2 separate regions of the Homo sapiens genome follow, and region 1 is linked to region 2. Evidence: promoter capture Hi-C in human tissues and cell types (Jung and others, 2019). All regions are on one chromosome and are shown on one strand. Each heading gives the region's core, a stretch centred on a gene start or on the middle of the fragment in contact. The rest is flanking DNA. Distances are from core to core; before and after follow the strand shown.

The links. Contacts are between HindIII fragments. The study calls those that stand out against the background at their distance.
Region 1: a fragment that was not itself captured here is called in contact with the fragment with the promoter of KRT17 in region 2 in 1 of the 25 tissues and cell types used here (dorsolateral prefrontal cortex).

The regions. Positions count from the first base shown.
Region 1 is chr17:40,904,565-40,907,580 of GRCh38, forward strand. The region is part of intron 1 of LOC105371777 (a long non-coding RNA gene); the gene reads left to right. Among named protein-coding and RNA genes, the nearest start is that of KRT20, 21 kb to the left of the region's middle. The HindIII fragment of the contact is 3,141 bases long and covers 1-3,016 here.
Region 2 is chr17:41,623,061-41,625,945 of GRCh38, forward strand. KRT17 (keratin 17) reads right to left here and starts at 1,515. Exons shown (of 8, transcript NM_000422.3): 1 at 1,018-1,515. The coding sequence starts at 1,449. The HindIII fragment of the contact is 8,196 bases long and covers 1-2,885 here.

The sequences.
Region 1 (3,016 bases), core at 260-2,759, 720 kb before region 2:
TCTGTGTGAATATCAGTGTGTGCAAGGTTTTGTTGCAGATGCTGGGGATACAGTAGTTAAAAAAACACAAACGTTTCTGCCCTGGCGGAACTTAGATTCAGGGGTGGGAGCTAGAGGTGAAGGGAGTAGGTCAGAGGAGAAAAAGGAAGGGTGGGGAGGGCTGGGAAAGTTGCCCTTGTGTGTAGAGAGATGAGAATGGGCCTCCCTGTGAGAGTGGTATTTGAATGACAGCAGGAAGAAAAGAGCCATATGGCAGCTCAGGTGCAAAGGTCTATAGCAGTTTAGGTGTGAGTGTGGGTGGAGCAGTGGGGATGTGGGGGTGCTCAGGGATGGAAGGGAGGGTGGTGGAAAGGACCTCAGCAATTCGGAGGTGAATGGTGAGGGATGTGGATGCCATCATCCAGCAAGGAACCTGCCTTTTACTCTGTGATATGAGAAGCCACCGAACTTTGGCGATGGAGTAATTCCTTATATCTTTAAAAAGAGGCACAAAGACCACACCTCATAAATACTGACATCATATTAACAGAATAGATAATACACCACTTTTTCAAATGTATCTTTTTTTCTTTTAATCGCTGAGAGGGAAAAGTAGTATCAGTGGCAGCACACACACACACACACACACACACACACGGAAGAAATGGAAATAAAAGCTAAAGAACAAACTAGTAATGATTCGGAGTGAGACCCCTAACACCTCCCGAATGGGGGCAAGAAGCTCAGGACTCTGGTAGCCCAGGCAGAGTCTGAGTAACTGGCGTTGCCTCTCTTCATGCATCTACCTGATCCACCTGTCCTTCTACCCACCCCTCTGATCCCTAGGAATTCTGAGAGCCTGGTATCACCCAGGTACAAGATGAAGAAGTCTATTGTCCCCTAGAGGGTAAATGGCAAGAGGTGCAGTTTAGGAGGATTCTCAGTCTGGGAGGAGAAGCTAGCTGAGAGCTTGCCACAGATGTAAGCAGGAACGCCCGGCTGAAGTGGGAACGAGGCAGAGGCTGGAAGACACAGCAGAGTGCTGTGCAACAGATGCCGCCTGGCAGACATGGTGCTCTCATCACAAGAGACTGTTATTTGGTACTGAAGTAGCCTTCACATTCCATAGAAAAATGTCTTTCTATTTTTTATATTATACTTTAAGTTCTGGGGTACAGGTGCAGAACATCCAGGTTTGTTACATAGGTATTGATGCGCCATGGTGGTTTGCTGCACGCATCAGCCTGTCATCTACATTAGATATTTGTCCTAATGCTCTCCTCCCACAGCCCTCCACGCCCCGACAGTCCCCAGTATGTGATGCGCCTCCCACCCCCCGTGTCCATGTGTTCTCACTGTTCAACCCCAACTTATGAGAGAGAACACACGGTGTCTGGTTTTCTGTCCTTGTGTTAGTTTGCTGAGAATGATGCTTTCCAGCATCATCTATGTCCCTGCAAAGGACATGAACTCATCCTTTTTTATGACGGCATAGTATTCCATTGTGTATCTGTGCCACATTTTCTTTATCTGGTCTATCATTGATGGGCAATTGGGTTGGTTCCAAGTCTTTGTTATTGTGAACAGTGCTGCAATAAACATATGTCTGCATATGTCTTTATAGCAGAATGATTTATAATCCTTTGAGTATATACCTAGTAATGGGATTGCTGAGTCAAATGGTATTTCTGGTTGTAGATCTTTGAGGAATCGCCACACTGTCTTCCACAATGGTTGAACTAATTTACACTCCCACCAACAGTATAAAAGCGTTCCTAAGAAAAATGCCTTTCAATCCTTTACCTTATTCCATGATCACCAATTTTCTGATACCTAATTCAGTGTGCAGGCACATTGATTCCAAGACAGGTTCATGGTATAATGGCAAAACAACAGCAAGACAACTTCCATTGTAAATGAACGGGGGCTTCTTGTTCCTTGGGTTTAGCTGGCTCCATTCCCTTAGCTCCTGACCAACCTTGGTAAAATAAAATTTCTAAACCTTGAAGCTTGAGGACTGGACCTTTACCAACAAATGTGTGTTGAAGAGTGAGCATGGGAGGTGCAGTGAGTGTAGGGGCTCACCTGGAAATACTCCGCTCCTCCTAAGCATTGCTCCAGCGTGGCACCCACAGCCACAGAAGGAAGCACAGCACAGGAGATCCATCAGGGTGTCCCATGAAATGCTGCATCCGAAGCATGGGCCAAAATATCTAGACCTCAATGAAGAGCTATAAAGGGGTGTTAGGGGATACAGCATCTAACATAGAAAGCACGCTGTCCATGGTTATTAAGTGAATGCATGGATGAACAGGAGGAGTCCAAATTATCTGTTTTAAAGAGGAAGACATTTCTTTGTGTTTTTAATCCTTCTTGTTTTTATGGTGTCTACTACCAATTAAAATGTATTGTGCCATGTTTCTTAATTAAAATAAGAAATTTGATTGCATGTTTCTGTTGGTAAATGATCATACAAGAATCATTCATGTCAGCTTTGTTCTGGGAATGAACACAGGATATGGGGTCAAGATACGTGGGGTAACTCTGTTACCAAGACCTTTAAGGAAATAGTATTATTGAATAGAAAATGGAACATTTGGGCTCTGAAGTCTTATTTCATGACATTTAAAGTGTTTATTTAGCTCTGGCTTCCTCTGCTGGAAGATTGACTTTCTTATTTGCTCCTGTAACGGATGGATATGCTGTGTGGCTGTAGAGCTCCTTCCCTCCCTCCCTCCTTTCCTTCCTTCCTTCCTTCCTTCCTTCCTTCCTTCCTTCCTTCCTTCCTTCCTCCCTCCCTCCCTCCCTCCCTGCTTGCCTTTCTCTTTCTTTCTTTCTCTCTCTCTCTTTCTTTATTCTTCCTTCCCCCCTCCCTCTCTGTCTCCCTTCCCTTTTCTTTTCTTTTTTCTTTCCTTTCCTTTCCTGTTTTCCTTCCTTCCCTCTTTCATTCCTTTCTTTCCATCCCTAGTTTTCTTTTCTTTTCTTTTCTTTTTTTTTTTTTTTTTGAGGCAGAGTCTCACTCTTGTCCCCCAGGCTG
Region 2 (2,885 bases), core at 265-2,764:
TTGGATGGGGGTGGCTGAGCCCACACCAGGGTTCTGAGCAGATCTTCCTGCCTCAGGGCCTCTCTTCTCGCCCAGCCCCTCCCTTGCCCCGTGCTGTATTATTGGCAGAGGAGGGGCAAACAGGAGTCTGAAGGGCTGAAAGGTGCCTCTTCTTCCCCCGATACTCAGTACCCCACCAGACCCCCATGGCAGGCTCGGCCTTAAAGGAGAAGAGACAGCTGGCTGGGAGTATGAGGCAACCAGAAAAGAATGGGAAAATGTCCCCAGGGCAGAAGCTGTCCCAGAATTCTAGAACAAGGGAGGGGATGTGGGCAACCCCCTCGTTTTACAGTCAGCTAGAGGGTGCCCCTGACAGGCTCCCCCAAAAGGAGGCTAAAGGAGCCCTCATTAAAGAGTGGTTCCAAATCAAAAGTCAGGACCCCTCCTAATCCCTAACCCTGGGCGCCAGCCAGCAGCCCCGCCCCCTGGGGTTTGCTGAGCCCGTCTTAAGGGACAGCAGGAGGAAAGGAGAAGCCAGAAAAATCCCCAAATAAGGCACATCAGAGGCCTTCCCCACACTGAGGTCCCGCCCCCTCCTTTCTGCCTCCTCCTGCAGCAGGTGCTATCAGGAGCTCACTCAGACACCCCCACTCCACATCACCCAAAACCCCCTCCTGTTGACCCCTGCTCCAAAGGAGCAAGACACCACACATCCAGCAGCCCACGGGCCCAGCCCTCCATCTGCATCCTCCTGCCTCATCCTACAACCTCTCCAGGTGGCGGAGCTCCACGAGGGAGAAACTGAGGCTCCAAGGGGCTCCACAAGGCCTCTTTGTTCCTGACTCAGCTTGCTGTCCCCAGAAAAGGGGGATGTGAGCCACACAGGGGCCCCAAGGCAGGTTCCCAGAAGCTAAGCCACAGCCAAACCACCCTTGGCTCCCTGAGACCCTATGGCTGGACTCCAGGCCTTTGGCCAAGGCAGGAGTTGGGGGGAAGAAGTCATGCCCCCCGGAGACCCCTCCCACCAGCAGGCCCTACCTTGTTCTGCAGCTCCTCAATTGTCCTGTAGTACTGGCTGTAGTCACGGGCGGGCCCCGGGGCCTGCCTCTGGTACCAGTCACGGATCTTCACCTCCAGCTCAGTGTTGGCCTCCTCCAGGGCACGCACCTTGTCCAGGTAGGAGGCCAGGCGGTCATTGAGGTTCTGCATGGTGGCCTTCTCACCTCCAGCCAGCAGCCCATCAACACCCCCAAAGCTGCTGCCATAGCCACCACCAGAGCCAAAGCTGTAGCAGCTGGAGTAGCTGCTACCCCCGAGGGTGCTGCCCAGGCCGCCAGCAGATCCCAGCCTGCAGGAGCCGGCACCCAGGCCGCCAGACAGCCGGCAGGAGGTGCGGGACGAGCCGCCCCCCAGGCCGGAGGAGCCCTTGATGGAGCTGGAGGAGGTGAACTGGCGGATGGAGGTGGTCATGGTGGCGGCGGCAGGAGGCAGGCACACAGGAGAAGGGCTGGAGAGGAGAGGGGCCCCAAGTTGTGTAGGGCTGCCGGGGTTCGCCCGCTTCCTTTATAGGCCACCAAGTGGGCGTAGCGATTACAACAGGCTTGCTCCTCTGTTTCCATTCCCCTGGGCTTTCATCACCACTGGCCACCTGCCAGCTCCCAGGTGGCTGGGGGCCCCCTCCCCGCCCATCATCAGGAATTTGCCTCATTTCTCCAAATCCTCGTGCTGAGTGCCGTGCGTGTGCGTGCCTCTGGTCTCAGGCCCGTCACCTGTGATTCAGGCGGGCCCTCCAGCTATGCTTTCCCATGACCTAATACGGAGAAGAGGAGAAGGCAGGACGTCACCGTCCCCAGGCCCTCCCAGGCAGCCACCACCCCAGCCTGGCCCGCCTCAACCCTGTCTGGTGGGGAAATGGGTTGCAGTGTCAGCTGACCCCCCCGCCAAAGTTGCTGTCTTTCACCCCACACTGCTCCACCCACGGTGCTGGCCCCGGGGCTGGGTGCTGAAGAGAAAGAGGAGACCGAGAGCCTATCCTGCCTTGGAAACTGAGCCCAAACCCACCAGGCCCACCTCACAGCATAGAAATGCCATCAAGCCTCGGAGACCAACCCACATCACAGATAAAGAAATTGGGGCTCCAGAGGGGTGCCGTGTCCACACTGGCCCCTTCTGCAGAGCCTGACACCCAGGAATGCACTCTAGGGGCTACAGTTCCATCCAGTCAGCTTCTGACCCTGCCCCATCCCTAGAAATCCTTGCTAACCCAGTCTCTTCGTGTAAACCTTTCCCCAGGTTTACACTCCAGGCTGGGGTGGGCAAACAGGGGCTCAGCTATAGGATGGGGAAATGGTGGGCTGTGCCAACTGAGAGGGGGATGCCCCCTTCCACTCCCCTCACCCTTCTGTACCCCAAGAGACCTCAGGGTCAGGTGACGGGTATTTATCTCAGGTCTCAGCCCACAGGAAACCTAAAGGACATTGCCCAAGAAGAGGCTCTTACAGAGACCCCAGCCAGCCCCCTTCCCACTCCAGGCTCCCCAAGATGTGGCTCCTCAGGTGGGCCATGTGCCCCACCCCACAGCCCCACCCTGCCCTGCCCACCACCCCAAGCCCGGCCCTGGGTCCCAGGGTCCCGCCAGGCCCGCTGGGTGGAATGTGGTCATGTTTCAGACTGCCGATGGCTTCCACTTCCCAGACAGGCCCAGACGGCCCCGCCAGCAGCCGAGAGACATTCCTCAATAGCCCAGTGGCTGCCAAGCCACCAAAGCAAACAGGATGCCCCCTACGCGTACACGCACAGCGGCCACCCCGCCCCACACACACCCCGAGCTGGGGCAGAGCCGGTCTGGTTTCCTGGGCTGGCTGCGTCACTGCCATGCCCTCTCACTCATCAATGCCATGGACCAC